Regions from separate parts of the Homo sapiens genome. Here region 1 is linked to region 2. The links are contacts of gene promoters, found by promoter capture Hi-C in human tissues and cell types (Jung and others, 2019). All regions are on one chromosome and are shown on one strand. The core of a region is centred on a gene start or on the middle of the fragment in contact, and the rest is flanking DNA. Distances in the headings are between cores, read along the strand shown.

Evidence for each region. The method cuts DNA at HindIII sites, captures the fragments that hold promoters and counts their contacts. A contact is called where the count stands out against the background at its distance.
Region 1: a fragment that was not itself captured here is called in contact with the fragment with the promoter of PRLR in region 2 in 1 of the 25 tissues and cell types used here (stomach).

Annotation. Positions count from the first base shown.
Region 1 is chr5:35,084,946-35,088,629 of GRCh38, forward strand. It overlaps PRLR (prolactin receptor), which reads right to left. Exons shown (of 10, transcript NM_000949.7): 4 at 1,263-1,395. Among named protein-coding and RNA genes, the nearest start is that of AGXT2, 39 kb to the left of the region's middle. The HindIII fragment of the contact is 6,672 bases long and covers 1-3,684 here.
Region 2 is chr5:35,229,038-35,232,431 of GRCh38, forward strand. PRLR (prolactin receptor) reads right to left here and starts at 1,450. Exons shown (of 10, transcript NM_000949.7): 1 at 1,231-1,450. The HindIII fragment of the contact is 8,302 bases long and covers 1-3,394 here.

The DNA.
Region 1 (3,684 bases), core at 834-3,333, 140 kb before region 2:
TGGCCCAGGCACCACCATACCCAGGTCATGCCCATTGGGTTGCCTCAGGAAATTGGAACTTTCACCTGTCCACACACAGAGGGGTCATGCACAATGCAGCAGCTATTTCACATACGTGTTGAATTACTTTTCGTTTTTTAAAAAAGGGTTCAAGAGGACAAAAACTGATGTTGGTCCATTTCAGACTGCACCAAGTCAGCAATAAAGTGAAGTGACGTTGAGAGGAGGTATTTCAAGCCCACGTGGCTCAGTAGGCTGCTCACATTTAGACTCAGGAACCTCAGCTCAAGATACACTGCACAGGGGTGGAGGCTTGTTCAATTCTGGTTGCATCTGAGTTCCTGAAATCTGTTTACATGATGTCCCTTTGGATTTCAGCCGGGATGACAGTTTTGTGTACAACAAAGTGCAGTCATTGGAAAGTGGGCCAGCTGTCTCTACCAGCAACTAAATATTTTCCTTTCTGAAGAAGAATGCAGCTCTCCCATGATTTTCAGGAGGGTCTCACTGTCAGCGTAACAAAATGCTTGCACAGAGATGATCTGGTTTAGCCCTCATTTCAACCTTAGGTCCCAATATGTCTTCTAGGAGATGGTGGCTCTTGGATGAGCAATGTGCTAAGGAAAAAACCTCACCTTCTTTTCCCTACAAGGTTCTTTATTTTCTTGAACATGAAACAAGTTTGAAAACCTAATATACCACATTTGTCAAGGATTGTATGGTACCACTTCACACGATCCTACTTATTTTGCAAAAGTGACATGTTTAGTTAAAAAAAATACAAATGGCATAAGAATTATAGATGAGCATTTAAGATTAACTAGCAATTAAGAAACACTTCTATGGGGCCTCAGGCTGCAACCTAAGCTGTGAGAGGGGATTTGAAACATTACATCAATATTGGGTCCATTTAACCATTTGACCCTTCTGCTGGTGACAGAAACAGATTGATGGGACCCAAGCAAGTGATGAAGTCTCAGGGTGAGGAGACCTAGGGTGGATGCTCAGAAATGCCAAGCATCAGCATCCAGTAACACTGATATTGTACTGCTATGGCTGGTAACCTTATGTATATTGACACAGCTCTTAACAGACATTAACAGGAGAATGTGGGCATGGACCTTAGACTCCCCTTTCCCCGGTGGTATGAACCTTACTGGTGTAAATTCAGGGATGTGCTGTCACTCAGAACCAGTGTTTCTTTGGCCTGGAGAATGGGAGTACTCATGTGGGGTTTCATAGGAGAGAAGGGAACTTCTTACCCTTCCCTGTGGTAAGTCAGTGAATAATTGGTAGGAAGTCCTCCATCTGTCCCAGGCCTCCACCAGCAGGTGAATGTTTCCTTATTGGGAGAACGACATTTAAAGATCTCAGGTTTTCCAGGAGGTAACTGTCCTAGAAAAAGCCAGAAGCCACTGCATCAATATTGAGGTCCATTTAACCATTTGACCCTTCTGCTGGTGACAGAAACAGATTGATGGACCAAAGCCAGCGATGAAGTCTCAGGCTGAGGAGACCTAGGGTGGATGCTCAGGAATGCCAAGCATCAGCATCCAGCAACACTCCTCTGTGGGCTGCCCTGATGTTGGCATTGCTCTTAGAGAGCATTTTGCTGGTGTGTGTGTGTGTGTGTGTGTGTGTGTCTGTGTACTTTGAGATGGAGATAACAATAGCCTAGTGACCAACTGCAAAATTTCAACAAAGAATGAGCCTTGAATGCAAGATAGACACATATTGGTTGAAGAGTGTGTGGTGGCCCTTTTGTAATCCCACAAGGTCTGTAAAGCTGATACCCTCCCTCAGCCTAAGGGAACCATACAAAGAATCCTTCCCAGGTATGAGCAATCCGCAGACACTCTGGCAAAACACCGCTCTATGGCACTTCTCCACTCAGCTCACCAATCTCCATCTTTCTGCCATCCCCACACAATGAACTCAACTTGTTCCTGATCTTCTGTCCGTTCACTACATCGCTAAAGCTCCCTGTATCTGGGCATCCTTTCCTTCCTCTTTCCCCATCTTCTCCTTTCCTTCCCCTTTCCCTTCACTTTTTCTTGATTTTTTTTGGGATGGAGTCTCACTCTATCGCCCAGGCTGGAGTGCAGTGGTGCGATCTTGGCTCACTGCAACCTCCACCTCCTGGGTTCAAGCAATTCTGCCTCAGCCTCCTGAGCAGCTGGGATTACAGGTGCACACCACCACACCCGGCTAAGTTTTTGTATTTTTAGTAGAAATGGGGTTTCACCATGTTGGTCAGGCTGGTCTTGAACTCCTGACCTCGTGCTCTGCCCACCTTGGCCTCCCAAACTGCTGGGATTAAAGGCATGAGCTACTGCACCTGGCCACTTTTCCTTGATTTTATTCAGCTTTGATCTTGTGACCCAGACTCACAGTCTGTCTCCTCATCCACCCCATCCCCATTTCTGAATCTTGGTTTTTAGTCCTTTTTTTTCTCTTAGATTTTCCTCTCTTTCCTTTGTGTGTGTGTGTGTGTGTGTGTGTGTGTGTGTGTGGTGAGGTTGCAAAGGGCTTCCTTTGGATACGTAGGGCTTCAAGAGTGTGTGGCCCTTTTGTAATCCCATAGGGTCTATAAAACTATAATTTGATGGATCTTTTTGGGGTAGGAGGTGTGGTAAGAGGTAGGAGAGTAGCCAGCTCCTCTCCTGGTTCTGAGCAACCACTGTTATCTAAGAGCTGTACCCAGTTCCAGACTGGATGCTAGAAGGTCTCAGTGAGGTGGTGTGAAAATATAACACCAAGAGTGTAAAATTTTTTAGTTGCCAAATCCCCAAAGCTCTTGGCAAGCGGGCTCCCATTTCTCTTGCTTGGATGTCAGGTTCAAAGAGGGACAGCAGAGCCCTGGGAATTTGCCCTGATACTGTGGGGCTGGGAAGCCACCATGCTCGCCTACATGACTTCAGCTGATCCTCTTTTTTGTCTAGCTGGATGCCCTAGCATTGAGTTTAGGATATCAGGAGCAGAGAGGAGCGCTTTCAGATATGGGTCAGCACCTCCGGGGGTTCTCTCTGTTTTCTCCTCTACCCCTCATGCAGGCTCCAAGGCCAGAGTTTCTAGCTGAGCACCAGAGCAGAAACAGCAGGTTAGGAGGAGACCTCAGTGAGGAGAAATGCGTGGGAAGAGGATTCTCTAGGCAGAGCTGGCCAGAAAGAGGAATTTAGTGGAATGGCATGCTGTGGGACACAGGCTGGAGCCCAGGACACCAGGCTAGTAGTGTCAGCTGAAACTCACCTACCCTCCTGCTCACAGGCCCTGCTAAAACCCGTCCTTGCCAGCCCGGGTCAGCTCTGCCAATATTTGTAACATTGCTCATCCTCTAGGAACAATTTATTCAGGATAATGTGTTGCTGGGAGTTACAGCAAGAATGCAAGTTTTTGTTTTGCTTTGCTTTTGTCATGAGTGGGGAGAAGTGTGTGAAGTAGAAAGAAAAGTTTATTTAAAAAGTTTAAAGCCTATGGTTCCATAATGAGCACACTCGGAAGCCAATTAGGGTGATCATTGATTTCTTGAGTATTTAGTTTCTCTTGTGGGTCATTCTGACCTCTGCTTTCCCCTTTTTCTCTCTCTGAAAGCTTCTCTTTCTTATTTTACTGTTTATTAATAGTACCTTCAGGAAGCTCAAGAGAGGAGGGTAGATTTGTAAAATTACAATTAGACAAATGTTT
Region 2 (3,394 bases), core at 200-2,699:
CACTGAAATTAATATTTTCATCTGCTCCTCTCTTGCACTATTCAGCACTTCCACCTCATTAAACATTTATATATATATTATATATATTTCTATAATATATATATATAATTAATTAATTCCCTAAACTTTGCAGAAAAAAAATCGAAGCCCAGAGAGGGTAAGTATCTTGCCCAAGTTTGCACAGCTGATGGTCAGGATTGGGATTAGCAGCACTTCCCTGGTCAAGTGAAGCACGATTTCAGGTGGGAAATCTTGCCCGGTCAACTTGACAAATGAAGACAAAGTGATCCCTCCAGACTAATAATAATGTTTTGCAACCATTTTCAAGTCCAGTCATAGAATCCCCTACGTTGCTTGTTTTCAGGGCAGTGTGGGTTGCTTCCCCAGGATACAGGTAGAGGTCACTAAAAGGATAGTTTTCTACTCAAAGAGCCAGAACTCCAGCCCTTGCCTTCCCCTGCCGTAGCACTCGGGCCGGCCCTCCAGTTACCTGAGTTTGCCTGACTTTAACCAACTCCTCTTCCCTTCCCTCCTCCCTTCTCCAGCGGGCTCTCCTTCCAGCTTCCTCCCGGGCTGCAATTCCTCTGCCTAGGTGCCTCCGTCCAGCTCCGGCTTCTGGCCCGGAGGCTGCTCATCTGCCCCTACCCCCGCTGACTTTTGGGAGGAGCAACACCTTTCAGGTCAGCATTGCTAACCCTAAACTTTCCCCGCCGGATGCCCGCGAGGCTGCTGCGGCGGCGGCTGCTGCTGATGGGAGAGTCTCGAGTCCGGCTTTCATCACATCACCTGTCTGCGCCCCTTCCCCCTCCCCGCTCTTTTTTTCTTTTCTTTTTATTTTGACGCAAATAATTTGCATTCTGAGAATCCCACAATCAACGCCGAAACTCATGCTCAAGGATACAGGTGAAGATGCCTTTGACAAAGGCGAATGCGAGCCGAGTGCAGTTTGTAAAAGCTGGGGTTGGGGGCAGTGGTGGAGGCAAAGCACCTTAAGAGTATTTTTTAGCCCCTCTGAGAAGGGACATCCGGGCGGGAGGCGGGCGGATCCCGGGCTTCCCCGCCGGCTGCCGACTCTGGCTCCTGGCTGGCGTTCTCTCCAGGAGCCCGCGCCGGTGGCCCCGCTCTCCCCTTCAGCACGCGGGCCTCGAACCCGCATCCCGGAGAGCGGCCGCCCGCGCAGCCCCTGCCGCGCGCCGTCGGAGGCGGCCTCAGCTCGCCATGGGTACTCACTTTTGCCAGGGAGCAAAGTCTGCCACATCAGTCGATGAGTACTTCCTGCACGAGGACATGAAGCTCCATTGTGTGGAAAGCTGTTTCGCGAACGGTCGGTAAAATCCAGAAAGAGGGAGAAGGAGTGAGTAAGGCAGAAAGCCCAGCCCAGAAAACCGGCGTCTGGGGATTTCAGCCTCCGCTCCCCGGTCCCCAGCCCGGTGGCTCTGTGAGAAGAAGCTCAACTCGGTGCACTTGTTCACTCTTTCTTCATGAGAGGAGGAGTCAGTGTTGCAACATTTATGTTCCTTGCTGGAGGCAAAACAGTGATTTTCTTCAGCATGCAAAACGTCCAGAGCCTGCCAGTTTTAGAAGGCGACGGAGGTAGTTGGGGGAGCTGGAATCCTGCGAAGACCTGAAGAAACAACTGATTCCCCCCAGATCGGTTTTGCATGATTAGGGCCACATATCTTTCATTGAGACTGTACCAGAAAATAGACAGACAAAACAATAATAAAAATGACTTAGTGAGTTGAATGACCTCAAAGATGATATTTTTCCAGGCAGCCAAGATGTGGAGTGTCTCCGTGTCAAATTTCTTTCCTTATTTCTGAGTAACATTGAACAGCAGCTATATTTGAGAGGTTCTCCAGGGATTTGAATTGCACCTTGCCTGAGGAGTCAGATAGAAAGGAGCAAAAGAAGATAGTCAGTGACCTAAGAAGGTTTTGCTTTTTTTTTTTTTTAATACCCAAAGCGCAAACTTCTAGTGTGCTGTGTTTATTCTCTGCCATATGAATATAATAAACATTGGCGGTGCCTAAATAGCCCCACTTCTGTTGTTTTCCACAAATAAAGAATTTATCTTTTCTAATGGGCTGCATGTTGTTCTGACTTTTCTTCTTCTTGAAACCACACACAACCGCCTTTTCTCTTGCAAAAACAAAAACCCCACATTTAACAGTGCTGAAACAAATAATAGCACCTGCCTGAATCAAATAGTTATTTCTGACTATGTATGTTGCTGGTGTCATTTGATGCCATAATAATTAATGCATCCGATTGTTACACAACCCAGAGGGCCACCAAGGAAATACTTTAAACCAAGGTTACTGAGTTTTTTTTTTTGTTTGTTTTTGTTTGTTTTTTTGAGACAGAGTCTCGCTCTGTCGCTCAGGCTGGATTGCAGTGACCCCATCTCGGCTCACTGGAACCTCTGCCTCCTGGATTCAAGCAATTGTCCTGCTTCAGCCTCCCGAGTAGGTGGGACTACAGGCGCGTGCCACCATGTCCGGCTAGTTTTTTGTATTTTTAGTAGAGATGAGGTTTCACCCTGTTAGCCAGGATGGTCTTGATTTCCTGACCTCATGATCCACCCACCTTGGCCTCCTGAAGTGCTGGGATTACAGGCGTGAGCCACTGCGCCTGGCCGTTTTTTTTTTTGTTTTGTTTTAAGTTATTGAAACATGAGGCTTTCCCCTTTGATTTGACTGCTACTCTGGATAACTGGGAAATCACAGTTAGCAGTGAGCATTTGCCAAGCCACAGGAAGCCATTGAAAATCCCATGATGCTTTGGTGATCCTTTTGGACTGGAATCCCAGAAGCAACTACCTAGGCATAATAACCTAATACTTCCTGATCAATAACACGTCCTTATTAAAACATAGACTCCACCTGGTTCTGTTAGCTGATGGGAGATGCATCTTTCACGTGCAGACCGCACATGCTTCCTGTGATGATTAGGGTATATTTACTTTCATTCATGGGTGTCCATGAAGGTACGCAACTTCTATTTATTTTCAGAACCACTGGGCGACATGAGATCCTCAGTGGCAGAATATTTCTATATGACCTTTGCAAAGCAAAGGGTCACTCAATTCTACAATAGTTGTTCTAATCAGACTATTTTAACAGTTAGTGAAATAGAAGATCACTCTGGGTAACTCCAGACTGTCAGCTCTTAGAAGGCAGGGACTTGGCTTTTCCTCCTTGTGGTTCCCACTCAGCTGCAGGCAGCTTGGCTCGTCTGTACTCCTGGCTTACAGACTGGTCGTTGCGTGGCTAATCCATACCTCACTGGTAAGAAGGGCAGGGCTGGCTTTCTGCTCTGTTGTGTAGCACACAGGCACTGTCACAAAGCCACGGGTACTCATTGTCAGTGAGTTACCTTGCCCCAGCTTTCC